Linked DNA regions of Homo sapiens: region 1 is linked to region 2. Evidence: promoter capture Hi-C in 16 types of primary human blood cells and fetal thymus (Javierre and others, 2016). All regions are on one chromosome and are shown on one strand. The core of a region is centred on a gene start or on the middle of the fragment in contact, and the rest is flanking DNA. Distances in the headings are between cores, read along the strand shown.

Region 1 (7,097 bases), core at 669-3,168, 290 kb after region 2:
TTCCTCCTGCTGGCGTTGCTCTTCTATCTCCTTCACTTCCTTTTTCATCTAACTTCCTCCAGGAAGCCTTCCATAACTTCCCAGGCTGAGTGGGATGGAGGGCTCTCCTCTTGTTCCCACTGCCCCTGAGCCTCCACAAACCCCTGCACTTGACCATCGGTCTTTCCCATTTTATCACAGGCTCTTCAAAGATCAGGCCTTAGATAACCATTTGTCTCTAACCCCCGGCCTGTGCCTGGACAAGGTAGGCACTGAAAAATAAGAAAAGTGTCTATTGAGGGCTTACTATGTGCTATGCAAATCTATAAGAGCTTTACACATATTAACACATTTGATTCTCACTGCATTTCTAGGAGGTAAAGACTATCATTATCCTGCTTACAGATGGGAAAACTGACACAGAGGTTAAGTAGCTTGCTCACTCTTCGAAGGAATTCTTCCCCTTCTAAGCCAGGCTCCTTCACTGGGGGAGGTGTGTGTGTGTGTTCCCTGTGTCACATTGAGAGCACTGGACTGGGAGTTCATGAACCTATCACTCCCTGGCTATGGGCCCCTGAGCCACCTCCTTCCTGCACGGTGACTGTATTGGGCTGGTGCCCTCCCAATAGACCCAGGCATTGAGCTACAAATGAACTATGTCATGATTGTCTCACTTTGTCGACTTCATAAGGTCAGAGTTGCCTTTCCCATTTGATGGACAGAAAAACTAAGACCTATGGTCACAGAGCTGGCAAGCGGTGGGGGTGGGCCTGGAATCCAGCCTGGGAGTCTGAACCCAGCCCTGAATTCCTGCCCTTACCCGGGCTGGTCCTCCTGAGCCTGTCTCTAGTGCGCTCCAGCTCCCCACTCTGGGAGGGGTGTCCTGACTGCCTGCTCCTGGTCGCACTGTGTGTCAGGAGGCCCTTCCTTCTCTGAGTCTGCCTGTGGGGTGTGTTGCTTCCCATCTGTGTGGGCTCGCTGAGCCTGGACAGCACCTTGCCCCTTGGATAGGAGCCCCAGGGTGGGGCTGTGTCAACCTCTTCAGTCTGGCCTAGGGCTTCTGCTTCTGTCACTAGGAGCTCAGGGTGTGGAGCGGGGAAAATGACACCAGAGACTGAGCAAATCATTTCCTGGCTCTGTGTGTCAGTTTCTGACTCTAAGAAACGGATTTAACAACAGCCCACTGGCCCTGGGGCCAGGGAAGATGAAGGAGATACAGTGGGTGTGGGCCTGTCAGGCCTCCCTCCTGTTTTCATGACACCGCCTCCCCATTATCACCCTAGAGGCCTCTTGGGCTACTGCCATGATGAGGGGCCCCCTTCTGGGTCCTTGGGCCCCCCAGGGTCATCTCATCTGTCTCTCTGCCCAGCACGGTTCCTGGAACATGTTAGGTGCTCTGTAAATATTTGTTGACTGACTGACCGACTGATAGAGCCCGCAGTTTATTATTTTTTTTTTTCTTTTGAGCTGAATCTCGCTCTGTCGTCCAGACTGGAGTGCAGCGGTGCAATCTCGGCTCACTGTAACCTCTGCCTCCTGGGTTCAAGCGATTCTCCTGCCTCAGCCTCCCAAGTAGCTGGGATTACAGGCACCTGCCACCACCCCCAGATAATTTTTGTATTTTTAGTAGAGACGGGGTTTCACCATGCTGGTCTTGAACTCCCGACCTCAGGTGACCCACCCACCTTGGCTTCCCAAAGTGCTGGGATTACAGGTGTGAACCAGCGCACCCAGTCCGCAGATTTTTTTTCCTTTTCCTCTCCTCCCGCTTCCCGGTGGGACACCACACCTAGTCCCCTTCAAGCCCAACTCTACCCCAGCCCCACCCACCTCTCAGCCAAGTTGCCACCTTTCCGGGGGTCCAGGTCTCTACCGGTTCCATGGCCCAGCTCTGCCAGCTCGAATCAGCTCCTGTTTTGCCCTGCTGTCGCCGGAATTTCCGCTCCCAGAGCCCAGGCCTAAGGAGGGGCCGGGCTGGGTCCTGGGCGGAGCCTACTGCATACCTGGGCTCACACAGACGGCAAGATGAGGCACTGCGACAGCCATTGGCCCACGCCCGTCCGCCTCCTGCCCGGCCCTTCAGACATCCTAGGGCTCTGGCATCTCGCGCCTGCTAGGGGGCAGTGCCACTGGCCTCATATCGCGGGGTGGGACCCTGACCCTTGGGCTCCTCAAGAAAAAGCCACAAGAGGAGCGCTGAAATCAGTAGCAAAGCACAGAGGCTAGGGGGCCAGGTCCCTGGGTGCCTAGGCCAGCTCTTGTTAGCTGTGTGACCTGGGGCTGACCCTAACTTCTGCGCCTCAGTTTCTGGGTCTGTAAAAGAGATATAATAGACCGTACTTCAAAGGGCAGCTGTGCACAGTATCTGAATGGCTTGAAAACATTTAGAACTGGGGTGTTTAGCCTCCCTTGGATTTTGCAGTATGGACTCTGGCATCTGGTGAGGCCTGTGAATGCTTTCTCAGAATAGCTGCTTATAAAGGCATAAAACAGGCCGGGCGCGGTGGCTCACGCCTGTAATCCCAGCACTTTGGGAGGCCGAGGTGGGCGGATCACTTGAGATCAGGAGTTCAAGACCAGCCTGGCCAATATGGTGAAACACCATCTCTACTAAAAATACAAAAAATTAGCTGGGCGTAGTGGGTGCTTGTAATCCCAGCTACTCAGGAGGCTGAGGCAGGAGAATCCCTTGAACCCAGGAGGGGGAGGTTCCAGTGAGCCAAGATCGTGCCACTGCACTCCAGCCTGGGCAACAGAGCAAAACTCTGTATTATAAATAAATAAATAAATGCACAAAACAAAATGCTTAGGATTACAATGAGAACAATTATCAAAACTATATTTAAAAACAAATTTGGCCGGGCATGGTGGTTCACGCCTGTAATTCCAGCACTTTGGAAGGCCAAGGCGGGTGGATCATGAGGTTAAGAGATGGAAACCAGCCTGCCCAACATGGTGAAACCCCGTCTCTACTAAAAATACAAAAATTAGCTGGGTGTGGTGGTGCACGCCTGTAGTCACAGCTACTCAGGAGGCTGAGGCAGGAGAATCGCTTGAACCTGGGAGGCGGAGGTTGCAGTGAGCTGAGATCACGCCTCTGCACTCCAGCCTGGCAACAAAGCAAGACTCCGTCTCAAAAAAAAAACCCACAAAAAACAAAAAAAAAATTTGGAGCTGGGGAGTGCTGGCACACGACTGTAGTCCCAGCTACTCGAGAGGTTGAGAGGTTGAGCGGGGGAGTATCACTCAAGCCCAGGAGTCAAAGCCACCCTGGGCAACATAGCAGGAGCCCATCTCAAAAAAATAAAACCAGAAATTTATATTATGTGTTTACTAACATTAATAAGACTGGCCGAAAGTTAAATTTTTCTTTTTTAATGACCTCAGTGTGTTGTCGACCAGCTTGAATAAGGACATTAAACTGTGGGGTGGTCTTTGACGCCCCTCCTCTTACATATTGATCAGCAAACAACTAAAAACAGGGAATGCTGGGCCGGGCATGGTGGCTCACGCCTATAATCGAGACGGGCGGATTATGAGGTCAGGAGATCGAGACCATCCTGGCTAACATGGTGAAACCCCGTCTCTACTAAAAATACAAAAAATTAGCCAGGCATGGTGGCGGGCGCCTGTAGTCCCAGCTACTCAGGAGGCTGAGGCAGGAGAATGGCGTGAACCCAGGAGGCAGAGCTTGCAGTGAGCCGAGTTCGCGCCACTGCACTCTAGCCTGGGCGACAGAGCAAGACTTCGTCTCAAAAAAAAAAAAAAAAAGACAGGGAATGCAGAAGAGTGGAGAAGCCCTACTCAGAACAGGCAGATTCGCCCTTTGGTCACTGAACCACTGCTAAGCCTGGAGGTAACCAATTAATGGCGGCTACATCACAGGAGCATCTGAAACAGAAGTTGCTCACGAACAATTTAGTGGTGGTTTAACAACCACTGTGATTTTGAAATCACTTGAGCATAAATATTTTGAGATACTTGCAATAACTACAATTTGATATGAAAATATGTGATTTCTATTGGTGACTAAGCCAAAGATACTGCTACTGCTTCAATCCATATAGAAGGAAATCATAAATTTTGGTTAGAGTTTAGCAAAAATAAAAATATAATTTTTTCCCATCCAAGTTTATGGATCCCCTGAATTCTGAACCTCAGAGCAAGAGCTTTAATCTTAGAAAAATATCTGACACATAGTAAATGTTCATTTTCATCATCATCATCAGGTCAGGGGACTCCCAGGACTTTAGAATCAGATAAAATCAGCCGGGCGTGGTGGCTCAGGCCTGTAATCCCAGCACTTCAGGAGACCTATGCGGGCGGATCACCTGAGGTCAGGAGTTCGAGACCAGCCTGACCAACATGGAGCAACCCCATCTCTACTAAAAATACAAAATTAGCCGGGTGTGGTGGCACATGCCTGTAATCCCAGGTACTCGGGAGGCTGAGGCAGGAGAATTGCTTGAACTCATGAGGTAGAGGTAGCGGTGAGCTGAGATCGCGTCATTGCACTCCAGCCTGGGCAACAAAAGTGAAACTCCACCTCAAAAAAAAAAAGGCCGGGCGCGGTGGCTCATGCCTGTAATCCCAGCACTTTGGGAGGCCAAGGCGGGTGGATCATCTGAGGTCAGGAGTTCGAGATCAGCCTGGCCAACATAGAGAAGCCCTGTCTGTACTAAAAATCCAAAAAATTAGCCGGTCGTGGTGGCGGGCGCCTATAATCCCAGCAACTCGGAAGGCTGAGACAGGAGAATTGCTTGAACCCGGAAGCAGAGGTTGCAGTGAGCCGAGATTGCGCCACTGCACTCCAACCTGGGCAACAAGAGCAAAACTCTGTCTCAAAAAAAAAAAAAATCAGATAAAATCAGTTCCATACTCAACTGCTATGTGACTCAGCCCAACTTCTACAGCTCTCTGAATCTGTTTCTTTGTCTCCAGAAGGGGATTCCTAGGCCTTAGCACTGTGATGACATTAAGTACTTTGAAATCTGTATCATGGGGTAGATATGAGTTATTATTGCTTTAATTCTGTGGGGAGGAGCTACCTGTTGTCACCTACTTCAGAATTTCTGCAGCACCCCCAGTCATCAAAGCCTGTCACGACCTTACCTGTAACCCAGAGACCCAAAGTCTGAATTTCGCCCATGGTTGGCCCATGTAGTGTACGTGTGTTGTCATCATTTAATAACGTCACATCCAAATTGAGATTTCCAGCTTCTCTGAACTTGGCCAGCTCTGGTGATGCCATCCCACCTTCACACTTGGTATTAACAGCCTCTTTCATTTTGTGAGCCAGTTGGCTTCAAATTTGCAAAATGCCCGTCTCCAGCTTTGTCTTTTGCCTCAGGTCTGTGTCCCTTGAACACTCCGTGCTGCATCCTCGTTTAACATTTTTGCCTCTTCATGCAGCAGCCTCCCTGTGGCACTCTGGGGAAGTCCAGTAAATTCTAATAGAGCCTTTATCAGTGTTCGGTAGACAGATCTTGATTTCATCAAATATCTTTCCTGAGCTGCCACCAGAGGTGAGAACCAGCCCCCTCTCTCCCTGAACCACGGCGCCTTTACTCTACGCTCCCAGCATCTGCCAGGGTTAGGCAGTTAGGAACACAGTAAGTGGCAGCTTCTATTTATTTTTATCTATTTTTTTGAGACAGAGCTTTGCTCTTGTTGCCCAGGCTGGAGTGCAATGGCATGATCTTGGCTCACTGCAACCTCCGCCTCCCAGGTTCAAGCTATTCTCCTGCCTCTGCCTCCCAAGTAGCTGGGATTACAGGCGTGTGCCACCATGCTCGGCTAATTTTGTATTTTTAGTAGAGATGGGGTTTCACCATGTTGACCAGGCTGGTCTCAAACTCCTGACCTCAAGTGATCTCCTTGCCTCGGCCTCTCAAAGTGCTGGGATTACAGGCGTAAACCACCACGCCCGGCTGACAACTTCTATTTTAAAGGGTTTCATTTTGTTTTTTGAGAGAGTCTTGCTCCGCTGCCCAGGTTGGAGTGCAGTGGCGCAGTCTTGGCTCACTGCAACCTCTCCCTCCCAGGTTCAAGTGATTCTCGTGCCTCAATCTCCCAAGTAGCTGGGATTACAGGTGTGCGCCACCACACCCAGCTAATTTTTTTATTTTTAGTAGAGACAGGGTTTTGCCATGTTGGCCAGGCTGGTCTCGGACTCCTGACCTCAAGTGATTCACCTACCTTGGCCTCCCAAAGTGCTGGGATTACAGGTGTGAGCCACCATGCCCAGCCTATTTTAAAAAGCTTTATGAATATAAAGTTCTACATATTTGCTGTATACATTTCAAAGGTAATAGGTTAAGTGAAAGAAGGATGTGCCCTTTCCCCAGTGTGTCTCTATCATGTTCCCCAGTGGGGGCCACTACTAAATTTGGGATATTCTTCTATTTTCTATATCTGCAGATAGTCTACATACTATTCTGCAAATTGTACTTTTTCTTTTTTATTTTTATTGGAGACAGGGTCTGGCTCTGTCACCCATGCTGGAGTGCAATGGTGCAACCTCAGCTCATTGCAGCCTCCACCTCCTGGGCTCAAGTGATCCTCCCACCTCAGCCTCCTGAGTAGCTGGGACTACAGGCATGCACCACCATGCCTGGCTAAATTTTTTTTTTTTTTTTTGGTAGAGATGAGGTTTCACCACGTTGCCCAGGCTGGTCTTGAACTCCTGGGCTCAAGCCATCTGCCTGCCTCAGCCTCCCAAAGTGCTGCCCAGCCATACTTTTTCATTTAAGAGATAATCGATAGCAAATGAAATAATACAAGTTAAGTGCTTAGAACAATGACTACTATTTTTAACGTATCACGGGCAGCTTCCTTAATTGGTATATGCAGATATGCTTTTATTATTGTTTCAAGCTGAGGGCAGGGAAGTCCCTGAAGAAACTTTGTCTTGAAAAAATGGGTTAAATTGGCCGGGCGCAGTGGCTCACACCTGTAATCCCAACACTTTGGGACGCCAAGGCGGGGGGATCATGAGGTCAGGAGTTCAAGACCAGCCTGACCAATATGGTGAAACCCCGTCTCTACTACAAATACAAAAATTAGCTGGGCGCGGTGGCAGGTGCCTGTAATTTCAGCTACTCAGGAGGCTGAGGCTG
Region 2 (7,728 bases), core at 4,938-7,437:
TGAGACACCCCCATCTCAAAAAAAAAAAAAATATATATATATATATATATATATATATATATATATATATACACATATATTTATATATATATACACATATATTTATATATATATACACATATATTTATATATATATATATACACACACACACACGTATATATTCCAGAATTAGATAGTGGCAATAGTTGCACAATGTTGTGAATGTACTAAAACCACTGTAGTATATGCTTTAAAATTGTGAATTTTGGCTGGGTGTGGTGGCCAGCACTTTGGTAGGCCAGGGTGGGAGGACTGCTTTGTGCCCAGGAGTTGAATACCAGGCTGGGCAACACAAGACTCCATCTCTTAAAATAATGATATAGTGGTGACTTTTTTTTTCCCCAAGAGCGTTAAGTATATTTATTTTTTAAATTTTATTATTATTATACTTTAAGTTTTAGGGTACATGTGCACAACGTGCAGGTTACATACGTATACATGTGCCATGTTGGTGTGCTGCACCCATTAACTCGTCATTTAGCATTACGTATATCTCCTAATGCTATCCCTCCCCCCAAAGTGGTGACTTTTAATGGTATATGATTATTTCTCAATTTAAAGAAGGGGAGGGGTAATTCTCAGCAGTGTTAACTGCTGCAATGAATCAGGCCAGGCCTGAAGAGACCGTGCAGCAGGCTGTCCACACAACAGCCATTTTCCTCTATCATCATCCCTCCTCTATTGAATTCCAACAATTCTGACTGGTCTAGGCAGATTCTGTGGTTTCATTCCTCTTGCTATGATTGGTTTAGGAGTGGAGAGGCAATCCAGATCTGCCCAGTGAAACACAGGCTGCTGGGGTGCTTGTAGGAAATATTTCATTCTTCTTAAATGCAGGGAAAAAAGGAGCAGTCCTCCAGCCTCTTGCCATTGGTATGGCAAATTACGATGTCTGGAGCAACTGCCTTGAAGGTGAGGTGGCTGGAGAACATGTTGAGGGCGGCAGAGCAGAAAGACAGGAAGCCCACCTGGGTCCTCACAACTGCCCGACCTCGGGACTTGTATCAGATGAATCCTCTAGTTTGTGCCATTTATGTTACTTTTTTTTTTTTTTTACTTAGAGCCCAAGCATCTGGTGACTTTTCCCGAGATCTTAAGAATGGGCCTGGAGACAGGGCTGGCACTGAGCATGCTACCATGGCTGTCTTAGTGAATGGTCCTTACCACGTTTTGATGTCTGGTTTGGTTTTAGGCCCAGCTACTTTCATGGTCCAGAGCCAGTCAAATCAGTATTTTCCAGGAAGGAAAAAAAGAAAAAAACTCGAAAAAGTTCAAGCTTACCCTACTCATCCTAATTATATGGCAACAAGAAGAGGGCCAGAAAATAAGTAAAAACAGACTATCAAGTTTAACCTCAGCCAGTCGCTTCACATCTGAGCCTCACTCTCGACTACAAAATGGGGCTACACCTGTATCTCATAGGTCTGACTCAAAGATTAAAGAGCATGAGGCAGAGCTGTTAGCATAGCCCAGGGCTTAGCAGACTTGCCACTAACAAAGAACCTCAGCTGTAACTTTCTCAAATTCTGCAACCTCTGCTCAAATACCAGCCCACTACCCCTGACCATTCTAAGATGTCTCTTAAGTTTCCTCTGGAAGAGGACACCGCTTTTAGAATAAAAATTACCCGTCTACAACCTAGAATGAATGACTTCAGCAATAATGAAAGTAAATGGCTGGTAACTGGCTAAATGGACAAATGGTATTTTATCCTGAATAAAAGTCTGTCAGAGATGACTTTTGTCTAGTTGAGGGTCTGAATCCTGACTCTGCTGCTCATTAAATGTACACATAACCTTCAACAAGTTTCATCTGTGCCTGATTCCTCATCCATGAGTGTGATACATATATTACACAAACATCTCAACACTTGAGAGATAATACACAAAAAACCTCAAGAACTTAACAGCGATACTTTTTTGACTAAGGGAATGGACAAAGCAATTAGTCTCCAATTTACTTTATTCCTGTCCAACAATACAGCCAGGTCTGTGAAAGCAAATTCAAGGTGCAAACATGAATTTGTTACCAGTTCCATATTCTAACAAATAACTTCTTGCCATTTCACTTAGAGAAACGTGGGGTTCTCTGCATCTCCAAACTAAAGGAATCAGGAAAGACCCCATTGTCTTTGTTTGCAGGTCTACTTAGGAGCAAAGTGTCATCTACCTTACAAATGGACAACTGTGTACACATTCACAGAGACACTCTCTGACATGAGTCTATTAATTTGCTAATTTTATAGAAGTTGCAAATGCAGATGGAAGTAGAGAGGCTCCTGTCAGCTACCCAGCCAAAACCGCAGATCTACCAAAAATCTGCATTTAATACACTTCATGTATTCGGAGTCATGCAAAAAACAAACACTGCAGGGAATGCTGCATAACCAAGTACAGAAATCACTCCATACTCCCAGCCTTTCACCATCAGCTAAGTCTACTCCTGGAATCCTTCCTAACTGCACCTAGCACTGTGTGTTTTGGAAGCTGACTATAAATCAGTGAAAGATCATCATTAGACTGTACATGGAGTACCTCAAAGCAGAACGTACCCTGTTCCAAGAGACTTGGATAAACCAGGTTACCCCACTTGTGGGAAAAGATCAGAGGCAGCATTCCAAGCCAAACTGTATCCAGCTTTATTAAAGATACTTTCCATAAACAATCATGGTATTTCAGGCAGGACATGGGCAGACAATCGTTAACAGTATACAACAACTTTCAAACTCCCTTCTTCAATGGACTACCAAAAATCAGAAAGCCACTATAAAACCCAATGAAGTCTTCATCTGATGCTCTGAACAGGGAAAGTTTAGAGTGAGGGTTGACATTTCACATTTAGCATGTTGTTTAACAACTTTTCACAAGCCGACCCTGACTTTCAGGAAGTGAAATGAAAATGGCAGAATTTATCTGAAGATCCACAATCTAGAAATGGAACCACTGCTCTTTTGACAGGTGCCATCTCAGTGGCATCACTGGAAAGTCCAGATTGCCTGACACACTGGTAACCAATGACTAGGGGTCAGGTCTCAACAGATGTCTGGGCTTAAGGGAGTTAAGTCTATGCTGAACGATGGAAAGGGAGAAGAGGACATAAAAACAAATTTGTTTTTCTATACCACAAGGCTTTTGTGCCAAGGTGGCCATGTGTGTCAAAGTCAGGGAATCCCTCCTCCTGGGAGCCAAGAGGAAGTCTCTCAAAACTAGAAGGGAAAGGTGTTTTCTCCACATCAATCCAGCTTTGGAGACATTCTATTAGTGACATATGCCCCTTCCCCCAAAAACAACAATGAAGTGTTCTGTGTGCTAACAACATAGCTTTTAAAAAAAAAAAAAAAGTAAAACAAAATTCTGCATTTTTATAAAACTTGATAAAAAATAGTATTTCAAACTGTACAGTCACCAGAAGTACACAGTTATCAAAAATGCACACACTTCACTTGGCATCTCCAGCACCTTCAGCTTTCTGTGCCTAAAAGAAAACAGACAAATTAATGCAATGCGTAGATTTCAAAACTATCTGTGTTCACATTCCACCTACAGCATCACTTTGCTCCCAGGCCAAAGTTCAGGTTTCAGGTACTGAGACTCAGTATTTCTTCTGAGAATGACTTACTAGGTAACTTTGCTAAGTCACCTCTCCTCTGGGCCTCACTGTAAAATTGAGGTAGGAAGAACACCAGAATAAGAGACCTGAGGTTACTCCTAGCTTGAAAACTTCATGTAGTATAAAACACAATGCCCTTCAGCTGACAGTAGAGATTTCAAGAATCCAGGATTTAAGTTAACAGGAAAGCCACAAGCACACTGGACCAAATGGTACATTTGGAGTGATACAAGAAAAGGGCAATTAAATTTTTGATATCAGCAACTAACTGAATGAACAAATCTAACAAAGGGTGAAACAGCAGTTATACCTGGTCTGTTTTGGCATCTCCATTTTCTGCAGGGTTATTCCCCTCCTTGCCAGCATCAGCTTTTCCCTTTTTCCCTTTGGGTACCTTCTCTCCCTTCTGAAAAAGGGGAAAAAATAGAACTGTTTCTCCCCATTTCGTATTACCAAGGTATGGTCTGCAAAGTTCTGCACAAGGTAGGATTGTTTACTCAAGATAAAACACAAACCCTCACCCATTTGACAAGAACAACTGATCAAAACTAGGCTAAATTATCTGTAATTTGCTATAATCTTTAGTACTTAGAATTTCCTAAGTAACAGAAGAATAAATTAGTTTAAACCCTGGGGTATTTAATATTTAAATGCAGATTTTCCTATAAACTAACAACAGAATTCTTGATCAGGAAACCAACGTTATGAATGACACGGACGAGGTAAGCTATCCACACAGTTTATAACCTCCATTAATGGAGGCACCATTATGCTAATTAAGTTAAGGCACTAAGGACAGTCCTCATTCTGTGAAAATGATCAGTTCCAATGTTAGCACTTACCTTTGCAGGGGCCTTTTTAGGCTTGGGCTCTGGCTTTGGAGGAGCAGGTTTCTTTTTTTGGCAGGAAGAGAGGAAAAAGTGAACATCAGTACAATGGACTGAAGAAAACCACCCACAACCAACCAAAAGTACCAAGGGTAGAGAAGTTTCTCCTCCTCCTCAAAAGTTTTTGTGGTTGGCTTTCTTCTAGAATGTTGGATTTCCAGAAGCCCACTCAAATGTCCCACTTTGGCTACAGGCATCAGAATTTCAGAACCAGCAAAACCCAAAGGGGCAAGAGTCCCAAGTAGAGGCAATGATTCAAAACCAGGCACTAACCATAATTCATGGAAGCAAAGGGAATTGTTTTTTGATGTTTTTTAGTTTCAGGGACAAGCACGAAAATTCAAAAGCATACACTTACAGCAGACAACCTCGCGGATCTTCTCTGTGGCTATTAAAGACAACGAGAAAGTTAGAAATAGGACAGGTAAGTCGCTTTGAAAGTTTGGTATCAATTTGCTCTAGATTATAGGAGTGTAAATTCAGGACACAGGTTACGGTTAATCACCGAGTCCAGTGGCCTCTGCTAGTCCAAGGCTTTGACCCTTGAAGAGAGAATGACTTACTTCGTCCTTCACCTTTGCTTTATCTCCCTTAGCATCCCCTTCAGCCTATAAGAAACAAGAACAAAAAACTGCAGATTTTGAGGTGGTTCTTAATTACTTCCCAAACTTTAGAGTGCTAAAAATGAAAATTAAAGCAGTCGTCCACACAACTTTTCTAGGACATAAATGAGTGAGCCCGACGTTCGTATAAGAACGAAGCGCGCGCAGGAGCTCCGGCTCGCCGACCCCGAGAAGCGAGGGCTGGACCGGAGCGCAGCCGGGGAGGGCAGCGGAGCCCGCACCACCGCGACAGGCAGGAGCAACAGCTGCAGATGGCGCAAACAAACCCCCTCCGGAGGCGGAGCCCAGCGCCGTTGCTATGGCAGCCGTCGAGGGCGGGAGAGGGAGGCGCGCGCAGCCCGGGGAACTCGTGGGCGGCGACAGCGCGCGTCTCGTGCGCGGGGAACGTGGGCGAGGGGGCGGGGCCATACCGCACAAGCCCCGCCCCTCACGGCGGCGGTTTTTTGGCGGCAGCGCTTTCCCCCGCCCGCCAACCCCGAGCGCCGCCTTCCCGCCCTTTCGGGTTTGAATTGCCCGCCCGCAGGGAGGGGAGGGAAGGGGCCCTCGCGATGGGGGAGGGGGCACGGGGCGGGGGCGGCGAGCCCGAGGAGAGCGGGATAAACAGCCGCCAACATGGCTCCTCCCGCCGCGGCCGCCGCTCCTCCAATATGGCCTCTGGCGCCCGCGGGCAGCCGAGCCGCTCAGGGTTAGCCCCGAGCTGCCCGACACCGTCTCCAGCCCCCGCGCGGGGAGGCTGCGCTGGCTCCTGCTCGGCGCCGATTCTCGCTCCCTGCACCAGGGAGGCGGCGGCGGCGGTGGCGGCAGTGGTGGCCCGGCGCCTGGGGCCCTCGCGCCACGTACCTTTCTCTTGGGCATGGTGGCGGCGGCGACGGCAGCGGGACGTAGGTGCTGGACGCGGGATGCAGCGGCGCGCGGGCTTTGGTCGGTCCGGGGGTCGTTCTCGCCTCTTCTTCACACTGCTCGGGCTCCGGGGGGTTTATAAAGTTTTTATAGCGCTGGGAGCCCCGGACCGGTTAGAACCGGATTTCACCTCCCGCCGCCGTTCATTGGCCCAGCTGGGGTCACGTGGGCGGGGTTTAAACTCACCTCCTCTGGAGGGAGTGAGGAGGGGGGTGTGTGGGGGGGGTAGTGCGCGGAGACGGCGGCGCGCCGAGGGGGTGGGGGCGCAGTCGGGGTGGCGCGCGTCGAAGGCAGTAAATGAGGAGGGGTGCGCGAGTCGGCGGGCTCCGGGTTCCGGCTCCCGCCAAGAGCTGTCTTTTGCAAACTAGCAAGTTCCTTCCACCTTATGCAACCCAGCAACCCACTTCTCCAAGCCGTGCGACACTCACGGCGCATCTCAGCGGCTTTCCTTCCTGCTCCCGCTGGGGGCCCCAGAAGAGGGGTTTGCGAGGCCTGGCTGCACTGCCCTGCTCCTCTGGAAGCAGGAGGAAGCGCGCGGCTGGAGGCACAGGCTGCAGTTCCCAGAGCCCAGGCTGACGCCAAAGTGGGAAAAAGGCGGGGAAACCAGCTTGGCGCAGCCGGACGTGCATCCTTCCGAGCTGCCACTTCGGAGAAGCCTTTCGTGCACCTCACCTGAAAGACGGTCCCACTCGAGGTGGGCTAGGGGTTTCAGGGGGAGACTTTCCATGCAGAGGTGCCTTTTGGGTGCCGTGGGTCAGGTAGGAGCTGTCCTTTCAGCACCCGTTGCGCAGCCGCCTCCCCAAATGCTATCGAAGCCCCCACCCCCAACTCCTCTCGGGTGGCTCCCTTAAGGTCCCTGTATTCCCAAACCTCCAGACCCCGCCACAGTATGGTGGAGAGCGGCCGTCGAGGTCTACCAGCACTCACTTCCCCCTACACTCTACCCCTCTCGGAGACATTTTGCCCAGCTGCCCAACCCGACGCGGCCACCAAGCCTGGGCACTGCAGCCGCAGCTGGCGAAATCCCTCCTTCCACACTGTCAAGCTGGCTGCCTTTCACTTGCGCGAGGAAAGGAGGGTGGAGGAAAGCGCCCGGGGATTAGGAAACAAGTAGAGGAACAGGTGGTGTGATGGCAAAAGGGCTCTTCCGGTGCCCCCTAGTCCAAAGCCAGGGTCTTGGAGCTAGCCAAGTGCACCTGAGGGAGGGTAGGCAATTGCAGCAGCAAAAGAAGGTGTTCTTCCGTTGCAGTTAGCAAACAAGTTTTACATCTAAGAATCTTTAAAAATTCTATTTGAGACCCAGCACACAAGAATACGATAGATGTCCTCAAATGGGGGCTTGGCTCACAGGTGGAAGGACACTAAATTGGTCCCATCTGATTTCTTGAGGCAAGGGTTGAACCTGGCTTGCACAAATCACACCTGTCCAAAGCAACCACGAGTTCTACTATTTTGCAGCCCTTGCTGCTGGGCGACGACGACGACCTCTCTGCCTCTTCTTTCCACCACTACATCGCCTCCTGGGGCAGCTTCTCCCTACTCCACCCTGTGTACCTTTCCCAGAATACAGAACCTCAGGCCAAAGAGAGATGCCAGCCCCATTAATCACCTCTACTGTACCCCAATCATATTACGGAAAGTCAGACCCAGGAGACAGGACTCAACAGCC

Evidence for each region. The method cuts DNA at HindIII sites, captures the fragments that hold promoters and counts their contacts. A CHiCAGO score of 5 or more calls a contact.
Region 1: a contact is called between the fragment with the promoter of CNKSR1 here and the fragment with the promoter of HMGN2 in region 2, in 2 of 17 cell types (M2 macrophages and total CD4 T cells). The highest score is 6.3, in M2 macrophages.

Annotation. Positions count from the first base shown.
Region 1 is chr1:26,172,312-26,179,408 of GRCh38, reverse strand. CNKSR1 (connector enhancer of kinase suppressor of Ras 1) reads right to left here and starts at 1,918. Exons shown (of 21, transcript NM_006314.3): 1 at 1,810-1,918. The coding sequence starts at 1,861. The HindIII fragment of the contact is 21,071 bases long and covers 1-6,242 here.
Region 2 is chr1:26,470,899-26,478,626 of GRCh38, reverse strand. HMGN2 (high mobility group nucleosomal binding domain 2) reads right to left here and starts at 6,187. Exons shown (of 6, transcript NM_005517.4): 1 at 6,000-6,187; 2 at 5,100-5,144; 3 at 4,895-4,924; 4 at 4,492-4,542; 5 at 3,960-4,055; 6 at 1,985-3,514. The coding sequence starts at 6,014. The coding sequence ends at 3,479. It overlaps DHDDS (dehydrodolichyl diphosphate synthase subunit), which reads right to left. Exons shown (of 9, transcript NM_205861.3): 9 at 7,321-7,728. RefSeq lists silencers at 5,463-5,632, 5,673-5,962, 6,223-6,492, 6,377-6,792 and enhancers at 6,162-6,871, 6,872-7,580. The HindIII fragment of the contact is 7,205 bases long and covers 1,319-7,728 here.